Regions from separate parts of the Homo sapiens genome. Here all the other regions are linked to region 2. The links are contacts of gene promoters, found by promoter capture Hi-C in blood cells and fetal thymus (Javierre and others, 2016). All regions are on one chromosome and are shown on one strand. The core of a region is centred on a gene start or on the middle of the fragment in contact, and the rest is flanking DNA. Distances in the headings are between cores, read along the strand shown.

The links. The method cuts DNA at HindIII sites, captures the fragments that hold promoters and counts their contacts. A CHiCAGO score of 5 or more calls a contact.
Region 1: a contact is called between a fragment that was not itself captured here and the fragment with the promoter of PYM1 in region 2, in 3 of 17 cell types (naive B cells, M2 macrophages and total B cells). The highest score is 5.5, in naive B cells.
Region 3: a contact is called between the fragment with the promoter of BLOC1S1 here and the fragment with the promoter of PYM1 in region 2, in 12 of 17 cell types (megakaryocytes, endothelial precursors, erythroblasts and 9 more). The highest score is 8.1, in megakaryocytes.

What each region holds. Positions count from the first base shown.
Region 1 is chr12:55,673,011-55,677,119 of GRCh38, forward strand. No RefSeq gene overlaps it. Among named protein-coding and RNA genes, the nearest start is that of TMT1B, 6.7 kb to the right of the region's middle. RefSeq lists an enhancer at 608-747. The HindIII fragment of the contact is 3,457 bases long and covers 481-3,937 here.
Region 2 is chr12:55,926,059-55,929,932 of GRCh38, forward strand. It overlaps PYM1 (PYM1 exon junction complex associated factor), which reads right to left and starts at 1,836. Exons shown (of 3, transcript NM_032345.3): 1 at 1,667-1,836. The coding sequence starts at 1,703. It also overlaps a transcript of DGKA not described here. RefSeq lists a silencer at 778-927 and enhancers at 946-1,526, 1,018-1,237, 1,278-1,447, 1,527-2,107. The HindIII fragment of the contact is 1,291 bases long and covers 587-1,877 here.
Region 3 is chr12:55,714,796-55,717,383 of GRCh38, forward strand. BLOC1S1 (biogenesis of lysosomal organelles complex 1 subunit 1) reads left to right here and starts at 1,251. Exons shown (of 4, transcript NM_001487.4): 1 at 1,251-1,401; 2 at 2,138-2,210. The coding sequence starts at 1,257. It overlaps BLOC1S1-RDH5 (BLOC1S1-RDH5 readthrough), which reads left to right and starts at 1,239. Exons shown (of 6, transcript NR_037658.1): 1 at 1,239-1,401; 2 at 2,138-2,210. It also overlaps a transcript of ITGA7 not described here. RefSeq lists enhancers at 1,296-1,435, 1,716-1,955. The HindIII fragment of the contact is 4,864 bases long and covers 1-2,183 here.

The DNA.
Region 1 (4,109 bases), core at 959-3,458, 250 kb before region 2:
ACCATGTGACTCTTTCCCATTTCCTATAGGACAAGAGGCAAACCCCATAGATTAGTGTATAAGATCCTCAATGACATAGACATTTCTCAATGATATGGGTCCTTTCTCAATGATATGGGTCCTTTCTCAATGATATGGACCTTTCATTAATACATCTACTAAATGTGTATTGAGTGGTCCCTGAAACAGGCACTAGAAATGGCCCTGAAGATATTACCATGAAGAGAAAAATATACTCTGGCATTGTAGAGCTAACATGCTAGAGGAGACAGCCAATTTTAAAATATAGACAAGCCAGGCCTGGTGGTGCACACCTGTAGTCCCAGGTACTCAGGAGGCTGAGGCAGGAGGATCCCTTGAGGGCAGGAGTTCGAGGCCACAGTGCTGTAATCACACATATGAATAGCCACTGCACTCCAGCCTACACAACAGAGTGATACACCATCTATAAAATTAAATTAAAATATAGAAAAATTTAAAAGCTTAAATGTGATAAAGGTATTCATCATCTATTTGACATACACATTTTTAGTGTCTACTACTTGCCAGGCACATGCTAGATGCTAAACACGTGGTGATAAGGGAAAAGGACACAATCCTTACTGTTATGGAGCTCATGGGCAGACACTAATACCATAATAACAGTCATGAACAGTATCACAAACTGGCCTAAGGGCTGTTGACCAAAATGAATAAGGGAAGGGATGCTTGATACAAGAACCAAACAATGAGTTAAAAAATTAACTAGGCAGGAGGGAGGAGGGACTGCTGAAAAGAAAGCAAGCATATCAGGAAGAGGAAGACAAGCTCAACAGCACTGAAGCTAAAAGGAGTGAGAGTATGAGGAACTGAAAGAAGATTGTATAGCTAAAACACAGGGTTAAGGGAGGGTAGCATGAGAGGTGGACAGGGGCCAGATCACACAGGGCCTTATGGGCTACAGTAAGGAGTTCAGATTTTGTACCAAAGATAATGGGAATCCACTAAAAGGTTTTAAGCAGTGGGTGAAAGTGGAGAGACAGTTAATGAGGCCCTTGCAGTGGGCCAGGCAGCGGAGGGTCATGATCTGGTCTAGGGTTATGCCAGTGGAGATGAAAGAAATGCATGAAATTAATGAACTGGGAAATAGAGCTGACAGGACTTGTGAGTAACTTGAAAGTTATATATATATTGGCCGGGCGCGGTGGCTCACACCTGTAATCCCAGCACTTTTGGAGGCCAAGGCAGGCAGATCACGAGGTCAAGAGATCGAGACCATCCTGGTCAACATGGTGAAACCCTGTCTCTACTAAAAATACAAAAATTAGCTGGGTGTGGTGGTGCGTGCCTGTAGTCCCAGCTACTCAGGAGGCTGAGGCAGGAGAATTGCTTGAACCCAGGAGGCGGAGGTTGCAGTGAGCCGAGATCGCCCCACTGCACTCCAGCCTAGCAAAAGAGCGGGACTCTGCCTCAAAAAAAAAGAAAAGAAAAGAAAGTCATATATATGTTATAGAGAGATACAGATGGAGATGAAATGACATGATGTTTGGGATTTGCTTCAAAATGACACACAGGAGAAGGAAGCAGAAAGTAGAAAAGGATGTGGATGGGGAAGGATTGGCTGTGGGTTGATAGTTGTTGGGATGAATGATGTATACATGGGGGTATCTTATACTGTTCTGCCAACTTTTGTGTATATTCAAAATTCTCCATTATACAAAGTTAGAAATGAGAAAAGAAAAGGAGGAGACAGAGAAGAAATAGAATAAATCCTAGGTTTTTGGTTGAGCAATCAAGAAGCTAATGGTGCCATTCACTGAGATGATGAAGAAGATGGGCAGAGTAAGACAAGAGACTTGGGGAGTACCGTAAGTGTCATTTTGGACATGTTAAGTTTTATATGTCCAGAAGATATGCTGAGGAGGAGGATCAAGTACACAACTGGGTATACAAATTTGAAACTCAAAGGAAGGATCTGCACTAAAGATATAAATGTGTGAATAATTTGCATATACATGGCATTTTAAACCATGAAAATGGATGGGATTTGGTGAAAATTATGTGTCAATGTAGGTTCATCAATTGTAATAAATGTCCACTCTGGTGGGGGATACTGATAATGAGGAAGGCTAGTCATGTGTGAGGACAAAGGGTATGTGGAAAATCTCTGTACTTTCCTCAACTTTTCTATGAAGCTAAAACTGCTCTAAAAAATAAAGTCTATATTAAAAAAAAAAAGATGAGGTTATTTAATGAGAGAATTTAGACAGAGAAAGACCCAAGACTAAACCCAAAGAAACAAAATTTAAAGGTCGAGTAGATGAGAAAGATCTAAAAAAAGAAGTTTCTAAGAAGTAACAGCCACGGGAATGTTATAGAAACAAGAAGACTGTTATGTTAGGACAGCCTAGATGAGAGAATTTTTCAAGAAGAAATAGTAGCCAACTATTTCTGAAGCTGTTGAAAAGTCAGATAAGATGAGAACAGGGAATATTCACTGGACCTGGCATGTGGAAATAATTAATAGGCTTGATAATAATAGTTTCGGGTTTCTTTGTTTTGTTTTGTTTTGTTTTTAGAGACAGGGTCTCTCTCTGTCTCCCAGGCTGGAGTACACTGACCCAGTCATGGTTCACTGTAACCCTGAACTTGCAGGCTCAAGCAATCCCCTTGCCTCTGCCTCCTAAGTAGCTGGGGCTACAGGCGCATGCCACCACACCCGGCTAATTGGCTAATTTTTTTATTTTTTGTAGAGAAAAACAACAGCCTATGTTGCCCAAGCTGGTCTCAAACTCCTGGGCTCAAGCAGTCATTTCCTCTCGGCCTCCCAAAGTACTTGGATTACAGGCACGAGCCACCACGCCCGCCCAAAGTCATAATTCTTGAGTCATCTGCTCGTGTTATCTTGGTTTCCTCACCTTCCATTCACTCTTTCTCCCACTCCAATCCATCACTAATAAAAATTTCTTGGGCTTGGCACAGTAGCTCACGCCTGTAATCCCAGCACTTTGGGAGACCAAGACAGGAGGATGGCTTGAGGCCAGGAGTTCAAGATCAGCCTGGGCAACCCTGAGAGATACCCTGTCTCTACAAAAATTTTTAAAAGTTAGTAGGCATGGTGGTATGCACCTATAGTCCTAGCTACTCAAGAGGCTGAAGCAGGAAGGGCAGCACAACCCCAGGAGTTTGAGGCTGCAGTGAGTCAGAATGGTGCACTCCAGCCTAGGCAACAGAGCAAGATCCTGCCAAAAAAAAAAGACTTTGACATAGATTTGTAAAATGGAGTTTTAGCTAAAGTGACATGTGGTGTCAAGAGGGTCAGTTTATTATTAACCTGAAATATATTAGAGCATATTCATATTTTGAAAGATCCATGGAAAGGCAGAGATTAATGATTTAGGAGAAAGAAAGATAAAATGAAGACAAGAATTCATAGCAGCATTGTTTATAGTACCCCAAAAGTGGAAACAACCCAAATGTCTATCAACTGTTGAATAAATAAACAAAATGTGGCATATCTGTACAATGCAATGCTACTTGGACGTAAAAGGAATGAAGTATTGATACATGCTACAACATGTGTAAACTTTGGAAGCATTATGCTGTGTGAAAAGCCAGTCACATAGGCCACATGTAGTATGATTCCAATTACATGAAATGTCAAGAATAAGTAAATCCATACAGACATAAGTAGAGTAGTGATTGCCTACGGAAAGGAAATTGATGGTACTGGGGTTGGGATGGGGATGGGGGAAATGGGAGTAAGTGGTAAAAGCACAAGTTTCTTTTGGGGTAACGAAAATGTTCTAAAATTGATTGTGGTGGCTGGTTGCACAACTCTGAATATACAGTCACATGTTAAGTCATATGTTGCTTAACAACAGGAATAAGTTCCGAGAAATGCATCGTTAGGTGATTTTACCATTACGGGAACATCATCATAGAGTGTCCTTACACAAGCTTGGATGGTGTAGCCTACTATACAGCTAGGCTATATGGCGTAACCTATTGCTCCTAGGCTGCAAGCCTGTACAGCATGTTACTGTACTCAATACTATAGGCAATTGTAACACCATGTTAAGTATTTATGTATCTAAACGTGGAAAAGGTGTGGTAAAAAATACAGTATA
Region 2 (3,874 bases), core at 586-3,085:
TTTTAAAACACCGTGTGTACCAAGGCACAGGCACACTGTTGCTTCTACAGACTACAGACTACACATATGAGGGCTACAAAAACAGAAACACTTTGCACTTGCACAGTATTTTATAAATTGCTTTTACATATATTATTTGATCATCATTGAGTAGCTATTACTACTATGCATATTTTCCTAAAGATGAGGCCATTAGGAAGGGACAAAACCATGATAAAAGCTGTGATTCTCCGTTTCCAACACATACACCTTACATACACAGCAGACACTTCAGCATCTCGGCCAGCCAGGCTGCAAATTCTTCTCTAGCCAGAAGGAATAGTGGGTTTTATTCACTTGTCAAAGGGCTTCGGAGAAAAGCCACTAGATACTTTCCTGTTTGCCTTTTCCCACCTTAGACCCCTCAATTTCTATCACCATCACGGGAGAAGGTAGCGAAGGGTGGCTCCATCAGGGAGAAAACTCAAGCTGAAAGTTGTATTAGGGTCCTCTTCCCTTCACACCTCTAAACCTCAGTGACCCAACAAATGAAGATACGGGAGAGGAAAAGGTACTATGTAGAAACGAGGAGGTCTTCAGCAAATAAAGCTTCGAGAAAAATAATGAAAACGGGACTGGGGTAGGGCAGAAACCAAGTATAGCTGAGATGGGGGAGGGGAAAAGAAGGAGGGCAGGAACTGGAGGGAAATGAGAGTGTAGAAGCCCCCAAGCCTGAAGAACCTAAAAGAGATATGAGTGGTCCAACTGCTGGAGAAAAGCTAAGGGCCCGTGAGGGTCCTGAAGCAGGGACCAGCACTGAAGGACCCCAGGGTTTGGGTGACCGGAAGCAGAGACCCCAAACACGAGACCAGAAGGGGGCGCAGGAGACACCCCGTAGGAGAGAATGAATGGGGAAGGCGGTCCGGGGGGCGGGGCAAAGGAGGGGCCCCGGGATGGGCGGGGCACAGACCCCTTTCCAAGTCCGAACCCCTGCCCCGAGAGCCCGGAGAGAAGCGGCTCCGCGCCTCCCGCACTCACCGCCGGTCTCGTCAGTAACATAGGGAGTCGCCATCTTGAAAACGCAAACCACTTCCGGCGTGAGCGGGCTGGGGTCCCGCCCCCCTCCCCACCGGAAGTGGAGTCCCGATCGTAGCAAGCCACCATCTTAGTCTTAAAGGGAGAGTGCACCATTTCATGGGCGGAGGTGGAGGAGGAGGAAGAGTGGAGAAGCTGAAATAGTTAATAAAATAAAGCCGTGGGCTTTTTACTGCCACCGATACCATTACTGAGCGCTTGCTGCCTGTAAAACAGTCCTCAGGGAGCCAAGAGAAGTTCCGAGGCACAGTCCCTCTCATCCCCAGGAACTCCTCGTACGTCCAGGACCTGCGAGGGAAAAGGGCGCAAGGCCCACCTGCACCCAAAAAGGGGGCCTTATAAATGAAGAAAGGAAGAATATCCAGGCTCTGGCCTGCACCCAGATCTCAGAGCGGCTTGGTGACGTGGAGCAGACAAACTCCAGGAACGCACTGGGGCGCACAAGTGTTTCTAGGGACGGTTGGAGACCCTATCTAACCCTAAGAAGGTGGGGAGGTCGAATTCGTGTGCCGATTGCTGTCGGCCAACCCACTCAACCACCAGAGACCCGCGGGAGGGGCGTGCAAGGCGGAGGGCGCCGCGGGTCGGTCACCTGTCTCCGTAGCCGCAGGGCTGCCGGCAGCTTCCATGGCCGAAGAGGCAGCGGACCAGGTTGGGCGGGCGGCCCTGGCCTGGCTCTGCCCCGCTGGGCGGCGCCGGGGATTCGGCGGCGAAGTGATGAGGGCCCTAGTTGCTTCTCGCCCAGACCTCCTAACCCTGAGTGCCTCCTCGGGCTGGGCCCTAGGGTCAGAGGGCAGGGTGAAAGCTTCTGGGCGGACCTACTTAGTATTCTAATTAAACTCGTCCAACCGCTGAGGATCTAAAGCGGGGCAACTCGCCAATAATCCGGTCCCGTAGTGTCACTCCATTTGTAGTCCTGCCCTGCGCCGTACCTCCCTATTCTGCAGACGAACCCATATGGTCTCCCTCCGCCGCCCATTTCAGCAACTGTTGTTCCTTCAGGGCTAAGTCCTGTTAAACTTGTTTCCCCTACAGCCTGAGAGGAGCCCGGCTGCAGGTTCCTCTCCTCAGGTGTCAACTCTGCCCTCCTCCACCCTCATATAGCTTTTTCCTTATCAACCCTTTTACCTTCCTGCTTATATCCCCACTTTGGCTTAGTTTAATGTCCAGCAGTACCCCTGGAACCAGGGAGGAGGCAGGAGGTAAGTATTGGTGACTACCTCCAACACTAGGCAGCATGTCCCATTTAAAAAACAAAACAAAACCCAGGCGCGGTTGCTCACGCCTGTAATCCCAGCACTTTGGGAGGCCAAGGCGGGTGGATCACGAGGTCCGGAGTTCAAGACCAACCTGGCCAAGATGGCGAAACCCCGTCTCTACTAAAAATACAAAAAAATTAGCCGGGCGTGGTGGCGGGTGCCTGTAATCTCAGCTACTCGGGAGGCTGAGGCAGAGAATTTCTTGAATCTGGGAGGCGGAGGTTGCAGTGAGCCAAGATCGCTCCACTGCACTCCAGCTTGGACGACAGAGTGGGACCCCGTCTCAAAAAAAAAAAAAAAAAAAAAAAAAAAAAACTAAAAAACTGAGCAATGGCTGACTAGGACCTTTATAAGACAAATTAGGCCTCAGAAGTTTTCTGGGGGCCGCAGCTTGCCTTCCTTCCCATCCTCCATGTCTGTGACTTCCACTAGAGGCCAATTCAGAATGTCTGGGGGTGGGGCTCATTTAAAAAGTATTTCCAGGCCGGGTGCGGTGTCTCATGCCTGTAATCCCAGCACTTTGGGAGGCCCAGGTGGGCAGATCACTTGAGGTCAGGAGTTCGAGACCAGCCATGGCCAACATGGTGAAATCCCATCTCTACTAAAAATACAAAAATTAGCCGGGTGTGGTGGCGAGTGCCTGTAATCCCAGCTACTCGGGAGGCTGAGGAATGAACCTGGGAGGTGGAGGTTGCAGTGAGCCAAGATCGTGCCACTGCACTCCAGCTTGTATTATAGAGCAAGACTCAGTCTCAAAATAAATAAATAAAAAGTATTTGCATACGATACACTGTTATTGCAAGTGTTGTGACACTGTGGTCTTAAACCCTTGCTCTCTTTTCACCGATTGTACTTCAGCCCTGCAGGGTCTAACATCTTGTCCTTAACCTTGTTATGATTAGACGTGAGAGTGTGGGATGAAGCCTCTAAGAACTAATGGGATACGTTGGTCTTGACTGAACTACCTCAGGAGTGGTCTCTGCAGCTTTCAGAGGCTGCTCAATAGACCTTTGTGCAGGAGGGAAACCTAAAGTCGCCCCTGTTCACTACCAACCCTAGGCCCCCTTCCCACCCCCAGACATCCTGCCTCAGCACTAGGGTTGACAGGAAGTGAAACTCAATTGTCTGCTTAGTAGACCTGCCTGGGACCCAACCCGGGGCCCCGGATGTGGCCCCCCACCCTGAGGAGGAACAGGGCAAAAAAGGCCGGGGAGAACAGGCTGTTGTTTTTTCCTTTCCCTTTGTTCATTGCGGTTTCTTTCTTTCTGATTTTTATGATGTGGTTGATTAAAGAAATGAGCACCTGGAACCGTAGGCATTAAACGCCTCCTTCTTAGATGTTTCTTGGCTTTTCTTCCCCCACCCACACCCCCCAGTAACTGACTTGGGGTATGATGGAGCACAGATCCTAAAGAAGACACAAAGAAGTCTAGAGTAAGACTGATTCCACCTTATTCCTTATTCGAGAGATAACATTACACCCCACTTTGAAGTACCAAAAACTATCTTAAAAGGAGTGTCTTCAACTTTATTTAGGGACA
Region 3 (2,588 bases), core at 1-2,500, 210 kb before region 2:
ACATATATATAGTGATGTTTGGTCTTCACTCCTTAGATTCTATTTAATTAGTCTGGAATCAAGGCTTTTTTTTTTTTTTTTTTGAGACAGAGTCCCACTCTGTCGCCCAGGCTGGAGTTCAGTGGCGTGATCTCGGCTCACTGCAACCTCTGCCTCCCAGGTTCAAGCGATTCTCCTGCCTCAGGCTCCTGAGTAGCTGGGATTACAGGCTTGTGCCACTACGCCTGGCTAAATTTTGTATTTTTAGTAGATACAAGGTTTCACCATGTTGGTCAGCCTGGTCTCGAACTCCTGACCTCGTGATCCGCCCGCCTCGGCCTCCCAAAGTGCTGGGATTACGGGCGTGAGCCACCGCACCCGGCTAATCACGGCATTTTTATAAGCCTTGTGATTTCTGTGATTCTAATGTTTAGATTCTAATGCTTAGCCAGGGTTGAGAACCACCGATTTAATCCAATCCCTTCTCCTAGTTTTACTAAAGAGAAAACTATAACCTAGAATGGTGAGCAACTTGCCCAAAGTCACCCAACATGTTAGTGCAAGGTGCACCGAGAGAGATTGTACCAGTAGCAAGAATATGCTCATGATGTTTATAATTGTTCTCGCTGGAGTTAATCCCGGAAGCATTTCTTTTTAGTTCACAGAGGCCTTATATAAATTACTTTTTACTTTGGCACAGCACTTACGCTTCTGCTAACACTGAAATGGGTTCGCATTCCTGACCACAAAAGGACAGAGATGAAATTCTACATTCACACAGCCCGCCAAGTTAGCCAAGCTCCCTAGGAGGCTGTCTGAAGTGCCTAAAATGCTTCTCTACAATGATCACCCAGAGCTGAGAGACTTCAGTGGGGTAGTGAGAAGAAAGAGGGTTGGGAGAGACAGGAAAGCATCCTCTCCTTGAGGGAAGGAACTGGGAATCAACTGAGAACCAGCTAGCACTGCCAGGAGGTGAGGAGAGGGAAGGAGAATAATTTAAATGAGGCCAGGGAGCTTCTGCTCCCTCAATTAAACGGTGATAGACGGCCTGACACCACCAGCCCTCGAAGCCTGAGATCCACAGGAAATGTTAAAAACTGGCTTGGCAATATAAGTATTAGAAAATACTTCTTCCAACACTCACCAAAAACTAAGCTCCCAATAAAGAACACTTCACCTGCCCTCCGCAACCCTCTACCTCTCTTCCCCGCCAAGATCTTCACCCAAGGTCTCAAGAGGGCGGTTCCCAACCTCACGTGACACAGCGGTCACGTGACATGGCCCCGGGGAGCCGAGGTGAGCGTTCCAGCTTCCGGAGCCGGAGGGGGCCCGGCGTACCCAGCCCCCAGCCCGACGTGACCATGCTGTCCCGCCTCCTAAAAGAACACCAGGCCAAGCAGAATGAACGCAAGGAGCTGCAGGGTGAGCCAAATATCCTGTCGGCCGTTTTCTCTTCGGCCGCGGCCTAGCTTCAGCCCGGAGCCTGGATCTCGAGTAACTAACCATATCCAGGGAAAGACGCCAGCTAGCGGGCAACGGGCATGGGGGAGAGGGAATTTCAGAGAGGCTTTTTTTGAAACTCCTTTCCCTTGCCAACTGGCTCCGGTCCCTTGGGCAATACTCCGGTCCCCTCGGCAACGCCCCCAATCCCCGACCTGCCGCACCTTAGCCCCGCCCCTGCCCCGGAGCGCCCTGCCTATTGGCCCTGGGAGCCTCTCGTCCTGGCGGCGGGAAGGAGCGACTCTGGAGGGAGGAGGGTGTGGGGAACCCCCCAGAGATGGGCTTCTTGGAGGCCTGAAACCACCGGAACGGAGGTGGGGCACTTGTTTCCTGAGTCCGGGCTGGAAATCTCGGAGTTACCGATTCTGCGGCCGAGTAGTGGAGAAAGAGTGCCTGGGAGTCAGGAGTCCTGGGCGCTGCCGCTGACTTCCTGGCGTCCCTGAGTGAGTCCATTTCCCTCCCAGGGTACCAGTTTCCTCATCTCTAAAATGAAAGAGGTTGCGCTATGTTTTGCAAGGTCCTTTTCAGCTCCGGCATTCAGAGATTAGTTAAGAAATTTCGGCAACTAGCAGAATAGTAATGGATGGGTAGGGAACCTTTAACACTACCCCTCAAAAAACCAAGTCTCCCCTCCAATTCCTTTTCCCCCTCTCCCCAGAAAAGAGGAGGCGAGAGGCTATCACTGCAGCGACCTGCCTGACAGAAGCTTTGGTGGATCACCTCAATGTGGGGTATGGACCTCTTATCAACATCAGTTTCCTCCTTCCCCACCCCGCCCAAGTTTAGGCACTGGCCAGTCTGGCCCTCAAATAGCTGTTGAAGGGGTGGGATGTTCCACTAATTCCCCTATCCTACCCCGCCCCTCCCAGCTCTTTGTAGAGCAACTTGAGTCAACTCTGAGTCCTAGCACTGGGCAAGGGAGGAACAGCTGCCGTGGTTAGAGAAGCAGCCAGATTTCCCCTTCCCCACGTTAACTTCCCTGGCATTTACAACTTGATGCCATCTGCCCACCTCCCTTCACCCTTCCAAGTCCAGCTGTCACTTCAGCAGGAGGGAGAGCACCCTCCTTCATTACAGCTTACCACCCTCTCCTCTGCCTCCCACCCTCT